2 separate regions of the Homo sapiens genome follow, and region 2 is linked to region 1. Evidence: promoter capture Hi-C in human tissues and cell types (Jung and others, 2019). All regions are on one chromosome and are shown on one strand. The core of a region is centred on a gene start or on the middle of the fragment in contact, and the rest is flanking DNA. Distances in the headings are between cores, read along the strand shown.

The links. Contacts are between HindIII fragments. The study calls those that stand out against the background at their distance.
Region 2: a fragment that was not itself captured here is called in contact with the fragment with the promoter of PKP2 in region 1 in 2 of the 25 tissues and cell types used here (mesenchymal stem cells and thymus).

What each region holds. Positions count from the first base shown.
Region 1 is chr12:32,894,987-32,898,857 of GRCh38, forward strand. It overlaps PKP2 (plakophilin 2), which reads right to left and starts at 1,791. Exons shown (of 13, transcript NM_001005242.3): 1 at 1,523-1,791. The coding sequence starts at 1,745. RefSeq lists silencers at 1,790-1,899, 2,100-2,199. The HindIII fragment of the contact is 8,511 bases long and covers 1-3,871 here.
Region 2 is chr12:32,744,501-32,748,669 of GRCh38, forward strand. DNM1L (dynamin 1 like) reads left to right here. Exons shown (of 20, transcript NM_012062.5): 20 at 1-1,150. It overlaps YARS2 (tyrosyl-tRNA synthetase 2), which reads right to left. Exons shown (of 5, transcript NM_001040436.3): 5 at 2,044-2,863. The coding sequence ends at 2,704. Among named protein-coding and RNA genes, the nearest start is that of YARS2, 9.3 kb to the right of the region's middle. The HindIII fragment of the contact is 6,792 bases long and covers 1-4,169 here.

The DNA of each region.
Region 1 (3,871 bases), core at 541-3,040:
AGAGGCTTAGCATCTAACAAATCCCACTTTGTATTAATCATTTTAAAACTTAATGATAAAACTGATAAGTTTAAAATTCAGGTTTGGGAGTTTAAATACCAGCTCTGCCACTTACCATCTATTAGAGCTTCAGTGTTACTTAACTGCTTAGTTTCCTCATCTGTAAAATGAGGATGAAAATACCTAACTCACAAGTTTTTAAATACATATATATATATATATCTCAAATGAATGCAAACCACATCGCCCAATTCTTGGCACATAGTATGCACTCAGTTATATTAACTACGATCATTGAACATCTTCTCTTTACCTTTCAAGTATGTTAATATTGACTACGTCATCCTTTAGGATTCTTTTACACACACAGTACAGCCTCCCAGACTCTGCTGTTTGAAATCTCTGGTCTGGCCTGTTAGAATTTTTCTGTTTTCCTAATAGAAACTAGAATGGGTTAGCCTACATTCGCCAATGCCCAAGTTACTTCATACAGAAACAACTGAACGTTGCAGGAAACAGATATTCCAACTTAATTGCTCAATTTCTTTCCTCTTCTTTTTGCTATAAGCCAACATAGTGCTTTTATAATGCAAACTCACATACACAGCAACAAGAAGTAAAACAAGGGTCACTGAGTTGATCCCATCACCTGACTTCAGCAGGGGAGAAAAGGATACATCATGATCTCTAATTTTCACAAGTGGCTTGCCATCTTCTTTCCCTTCCACCTCCCCCGTCTATCAATCATGAACATAGTGTGCATGTGTGTGCTTACACCCCTTTCACCTTCGGGTTTAATTTTTTGGAGGGATCAGACTTGCATCACGCCCGCACTGGTGGGGGTAGGAAGCGCAGCTAGGCGGGCACGGCTGTTGCCGGCAGGGCCAAAGTCCCCTACCTCCTCCTCGGCGTGTTTGTTCCCTGGACCAAAGCCTCCTAACTACTTTTCTTCACTCCCTAGATCCACCACTCGCCTCCCACACAGGGTGGAGCGCCCCGAAGTACTTGCATAAGACAGCACAATCCCAATTTATAGGTTGTAGGAGCGCCAGTGCTGTCGGTTTTTTTCCCCAAGATATTTATGGGGGTCATTAATTATTTAACAAATCTAATAAAATTGAAGGGCTCCTTCTCCCAGAAAAAGATCGTACACACCAAAAATTCTGCATAGCATCTCAAGGTGTTTATAGACTCCCTGAACCTTCAAATTAAGTCCGCACCAGTGAGGGGCGCGGACCGGCGGAGTAGAAAAAGAAAGGGGTGAAATCTTGAAGTGAGTTAGTTAACATTGATAGATATGTACAATATTTAATATACATAGGTACCTATATGACAAAGCTGAGTAATAGGTTATGGAAAAGAGTGCTTTCCACAAGCAAGTCGGTCATACCGAAGACGGCGAGCAACAGGTGGGCAGAACACGGGGTCCCGCACTCCCAGCACGCGGGGTGAGGGCGGGATAGGAGGAGGTGACCGGGTGTGGGGCAGGGGGCGGCGCCGGGGAGCGGCGGGCTCCACTCACCGTTGCCCACGGAGCTGCGGCCCTTCCGGGCGAGGGTCTGCTGCACCTGCTCCTGGATCCGCAGGCTCTTGACTGTCTGGCCGCCGCGGCCGCTGCTCCCCGCCAGCTTCAGCTTGGCCTCGGAGGGCAGCGCCAGGCTGGAGCTGTCCAGTTGTCCCAGGATCTGCTGGCCCAGGACGGTCCGGATGTAGCCGTACTCAGCTGGGGCGCCGGGGGCTGCCATGGGGCCGGTGGGGGCGACCGAGCTGCTCGCCTGCCTCTGGACTCGCGGGCGAAGCCGCCACGGAGCTGGGGGCGCTGGCGCGAGCCCCGCCCCGCTCGAGTCCGGCCCCGCCCCTGGCCCGCCCCCCGCGCCGGTGAGAGGCCCGGGCCGGGGGGGAGCTCGGCCTCGTGGGCCGGACGCCCGGCCTTCCCTGAGGAGGGGGCGCGGCTCCGGCCGGGCACGCGCAGTCGGGCCCGGGGGCGGGGGCGGGGGCGGGCCGGACCCGCTGAGCGCGCGGACACCTGGAGACTTGTACCCGCCCGCGGGGAGGTGGGGAGAGGGGCGCGGTTCGCCTGGGGTCGCGCACGTTGTCGGAGTCCCAGCGGATACCGCCTGCCGGGGCCGCGCCCCGCTCTGCCCACGCCCCGCGCTGGACAGGATGGATTTCCGCTCGATGCAGGGAGGGGCTGCCCTGCAGGCAGGTGAGCCCTCGAGAGTCACTCCTGTTCTTGGACTGAGGCTTGCCTCCGGGATCCCCGAGCGAGTAGTATGTCTGGTTAGTCAGGCTTTGTCGCACTGTTGGAAACGTTTCCTGGTTTTCCTGGACCTGAGGGTGAGAAAGGGCTATTTGGTCAGGCGGAAAGGGCAATATGAGGGAAATGTGCCAAGAAGATAACGTGTGAAATAAAAGACTTTCTAAAGAGAGTGTTTTTTTTCTTAGTACAACGTCAGGACTATGTACTTTTTGCACAGATGCAGTCCCAGAAACATATGTTCTTCCTCATTGAGAGCTTCTGTTTTCTCTTGGATACACAAATTGTACCCAGTACTCTTGCTAACCCATTCCTCTCTTACGAACACACCCACACAGAGAAACTCCAACAAGAGGCTCTAGAGAAGAAATGAATTTTAATAGACGATGCTTTTTAAATAGCCCTGCTAACGTTGATTAAGTCCTCTTTATTACAGGCTCTTTGTAGAGAGATCCACGGAGAGGGCCTCCAACTTTCAATCGAATCTTCCACAACTTGTATTTATCGTGCTATTAATTATGTTTCACCGCAGTTGACTACTGAGAACTTGAGAGCTAAGCTCAACAGAAAGGATCCTTGACCTTAAAGTTTACAACCAAAGCCACTTGTCCTGATTTGCCTCTTTGGACTTAAGAGGCAGAAAGAAAAACATGTATCCCTGGTATTAAGATAATATTCCCTTTGATTGCTTGGGTTTGTATGTTCACTTTCCCTCAAATCACTCAATTGCTGCAAAACCCCACTTACTCAAGTCTGAAGTGTTTGGAGAACGCAGCTTCCCTCGTCTTTGTTTTCCTACCCACACCCTTCTGCCTTTAGACACACACTGAATGCTTAGACACACAATGCACAGGTATATGGCCTCCCTTTTTACATGAGCGTCCAGGGAGTGAAGAGGAAACCAAAGGACTGAAAGCGTGGACAACAGAGTAGTGACAGTTCCGCCACCCTTTGTCAGCAGGCCACATGGCTAAGTGGGAGCCATATGGATGTGAGTCCTGGAAGCAATTGCTCCCACCCCAATAGAATGGACCACTATTTAGGCAAATTACACCTTGTGTAAAGCTTGCTTATGTAGCCAGGTGGAAACATCCAACCATGATGCTGAGATGTAATTGAAAAGAGAGGGGTGAACTGAAGGTAAGTGATGATAGAAACGTCCAGCAACATTCCTGTTTCTCTCTCTCTCTCTCTCTCTCTCTTTTCATGGCCTCTTCTGGCAGACCAGAATCTGCTGCTTTGAGAGACAATTTCAGTATCTGTCCATACAGGGTCAGTTGGGGCATTCCTTGTTATTTTGTACCTGAAGAGCCATGACTTAAAATGTCAGCTCTGCCTCCAATTAGATTCCTCACCAGGAGACTAGAGAGGAATTTTTCTCATTTATTTTAATGAGCCAAACCTCAGATACTTTTTTCCTCTCAAATTAATTTTTTTAAAGTGTGTTGTTGGAATTGATTATCCTGTTGGGTAGGTACCAATAATTGGGCACATAGAAATCTTGTTGTTGGATTGTTAGGTGATTTGAGGGGAGGGAAGGTGATTAAAAGCACAGCTTGTGAGTGAGGAAAATCTAGGTTTTAACCTTAGCTTACCCCTTGTAAGTATATGGCC
Region 2 (4,169 bases), core at 501-3,000, 150 kb before region 1:
GTTGGGAGTTGGAGACCAGCTTGACCAACATGGAGAAACCCCGTCTCTACTAAAAATACAAAATTGGCCGGGCGTGGTGGCGCATGCCTGTAATCCCAGCTACTCGGGAGGGTGAGGCAGGAGAATTGCTTGACCCTGGGAGGTGGAGGTTGTGGTGAGCTAAGATCGTGCCATTGCACTCCAGCCTTGGCAACAAGAGCGAAACTCCGTCTCAAAAAAAAAAAATAAAACAACACCCAGATAGATACACATACTCCTTCAGACTTACAGACCTAAGCTGCATTTATGGGGTAGTGATGAGGTTTAGAACATATACATATTTTGTTAAAATTCCCCAGATGATTCTTGGTATGAACGACTATATTATAAATTTTAAGATGTACTTAGAAATCCTTAAGACATCTAGCCCCGTCTCTAATAGACAACACATTTATATTGCAGATATTACTTTTTTTTCAGTTTATGACCAGGTATTTATGAAGGACTATTGGCAGGGAAAATATGAATATGTTAACTTTAGCTTATGGCATCAATTTACTAAGGAACAACAGGCTCACCAACTGATGTCAAACATAAAAACCCCCACATCAGTCTGATACGATATGGTACTACTTTGAATCTGTTACTAGTACCATCTTGACAGAGGATACATGCTCCCAAAACGTTTGTTACCACACTTAAAAATCACTGCCATCATTAAGCATCAGTTTCAAAATTATAGCCATTCATGATTTACTTTTTCCAGATGACTATCATTATTCTAGTCCTTTGAATTTGTAAGGGGAAAAAAAACAAAAACAAAAACTTACGATGCACTTTTCTCCAGCACATCAGATTTCAAATTGAAAATTAAAGACATGCTATGGTAATGCACTTGCTAGTACTACACACTTTGTACAACAAAAAACAGAGGCAAGAAACAACGGAAAGAGAAAAGCCTTCCTTTGTTGGCCCTTAAACTGAGTCAAGATCTGAAATGTAGAGATGATCTCTGACGATACCTGTATGTTCTTATTGTGTAAATAAAATTGCTGGTATGAAATGACACTAAAGTTTGTCAAAAAATGAATTCTTAACTTTTCTCCCAGAGAAAGGGAGACAAAAGGAGCTTTTTAATACCTAATCTACTTTGGAACATAACCGTATAGAGTACGAAAAATTTTACGACTTTTTTCCTACCAGATTCTGACAGTTCACCAAGGTATTATAACATCTCCATTTTTGCGTATGAAGACAGTGACTTGCTCCAAGTAATCCAGGTAGTAAATGGCTAGAATTTGAACACTAAAGCCATGCTCTGCTGCCTGTAAGGTTTTCAAAAGAAATCTGATTAATCATTTCGTATGTGATTCACTTGATCCTCAAGGCAACAGGGATGCCATTGCCTTGATTTTTCAGATATGGAAATAGTTCTGGAGAATTAATTTGCCTCATGTTTGAAGAGCTGAACTCAGTCTTGATTCCAAATCCTTTAAGTTTGACCTGAAAACTTTCCTTACCTGGATACTTTTTGATATTCTCATATGATTGCATATTTGGTATAATTGGCTTTATTTTTGGGGGGTTAACTTTTTAATTTACCTCAAGTTGCAATCTGCTTGGGGGGAAAAGCTGAAACTTAAAACCAATTTAAGTTTCTAAATTTATAAAACATTGCTACCTTAGGAATCCACTGACAACAAGGCTTAATGTGAACAGAATTATACTGGAACACAGGCAAGGAACCAGAAAACTGAATTAGAAACTTTCTGAAAAGTCACGTACTGATTTTTGTACTATTATTTGTAAAGAAACTACTTACTGTAATTTCTCAAAGCAACCATGGCCTCATCTAACTTTTTCTCCTTTTTAAGAACTACATTTGCTCTCTGAACTACAAAAAAATCAAATTTCTATTCAAAGTTTCTAATACTAGTTTTCCCATTTCTAATGTGGACACTAGAGGCCCTGATGATTTTATAAACAACTATATAACATTAGTGACATCGGTGCTCCATACCTGATAGAAAAGCAGCTACAATTCCTTTTTTTTTTTTTTTTTTTTGAGACAGAGTTTCACTCACTACTCATGCTGTCTCCCAGGCTGGAGTGCAGTGGCGTGATCTCAGCTCACTGCAACCTCCATCTCCTGGGTTCAAGTGATTCTCGCAGCTCAGCCTCTTGAGTAGCTGGGGTTACAGGTGCCTGCAACCACATCTGGCTAATTTTTATATTTTCAGTAGAGACGGGGTTTCGCCCTGTTGGCCAGGCTGGTCTCAAACTCCTGGCCTCAAGCGATTTGCCCACCTTGGCCTCCCGAAGTGCTGGGATTACAGGTGTGAGCCACCATGCCCAGCCTCACAATTCCTTACACTACCTCTTTTTCATTGTTCCTCATCACTACAAAAAGGAGAGCAGGAAGGGTAAGATAGGAAAGCAGCATTTCTTTCTCTTCTGAAGTATAATTTTAAAAAGAGATTAACCCTGAAAATCATGGTTTTCTATGGTAATCAAGCTTTGTACATCAGAAAATAAAACATCCCATTATTAAACAAATATTTATTAACCGGCCCATAAAAATAATGAAGTTACTCACACTGAGTCCTAGTCCATTCTGTTTTTCTGATTTGCATAAGCAAAGGTCTAAGTTCTGGAGCCAACCCTTCAGAGGTCTTGAGAATGAATGATGGGTAAGTTTATTTGGACAACCAGAAGGACTTTTCATCACAACTGAAGCCATTTTATAATGTAGAAATTTCTTTTTCCTATTTTAAGTAAGGAAAGTCCATTCTTGAGAATATGTTGTCCAACAATTAAAACACTCTCAGGATTTGTTACTTGTTGGTGATTTATGCTGACTCCGCCTTCTGTTATCATTCGATACCTAAAAAATAGAAACGTTTAGTAAGTAGAGAGATCCAATCACTGTTGATCTGTCCCCCAAAAAAGACTGTTTCACTTAGATTTCAGAGGCTCTCCAATTGAGAAGATTTCATTTGGCACTGGACTGTTACCTTCATGTTTGCTCTATTATTAATAGATTCTGCCTCTCTTTACTGCTCTTTGTTTTTTGTTGTTTGTTTTTGAAACACATTCTTGCTCTGTAGCCCAGGCTGGCATGATCTCAGCTCACTGCAACCTCCGCCTCCTGTGTTCTAAGTGATTCTCCTGCCTCAGCCTCCAGAGTAGCTGCGATTACAGGTGCATGCCACCACACCTGGCTAATTTTGTATTTTTAGTAGAGATGGGTTTCGCCATGTTAGCCAGGCTGGTCTCAAACTCCCAACCTCAAGTGATCCACCTGCCTTGGCCTCCCAAAGTGCTGGGATTACAGGTGTGAACCACTGTGTCTGGCCGGAATTTACGCCTTGCAATCTGCTCTTTTAAAGACTCCGTCTCAAGAAAAAAAAAGAAAGACCTAGGAGAAGTTGTTCTAGGAGCACACTGGGTAGGTGAGGGCTGAACATTTCACTGAAAAAAGAGATACTTAAACTGGGAGTGAAGCTACCTTGACAATCAGGGCAGGAAACATGGGAGCAGCTAGAAAGAGGTGAGATCTGAGAAGACAGGGCTACAGCGTGGCTAGATCTTGGAAGTCCTTAAGAAAGAAAAATGGTGGTTTTCTCTCATCTGAATGTTACCAAATAAAATTAAGAAACCACTACTGGACATGGTTTTAAAGATATTTTTATACCTTTATTTTTGGGTAGAGACGGAGTCTCACTACGTCCTTGCCCACACAGATCTTGAACTCCTGGCCCCAAGCAATCCTCCCGCCCTCAGCCTCCCGAAGTGCTGGGATTACAAATGTGAGCCACCATACCTGGCCATGGACATGGTTTTATAAAACTCATCAGTAAAATATTTTCTACTTAAGGCCAGATTCCTTTCTTTTAGGAAGTATTATTTTACGCTGTCTGCTAGTTTCCAGATCATGTTCTATGTTTAATTTAAATGCACCAAACCTATTTAGCTTATATAATATTAAAAAAAAAAATCAGTATTACTTAGAGCCCTGGCTAAATCAGATGTGGTGTCATTTTTAGTAGTGGTAAAGCTTCCAGTATTAGCGAACACACTATAGTAAAGTTCAGAAGAAAACGAAATCTGCTTCCATAGTGAGGAAAATTATTTGTCTCGCTGACATACTACAGGGAAGTATATGACACCAGCCTCAAATTCACTGTGTG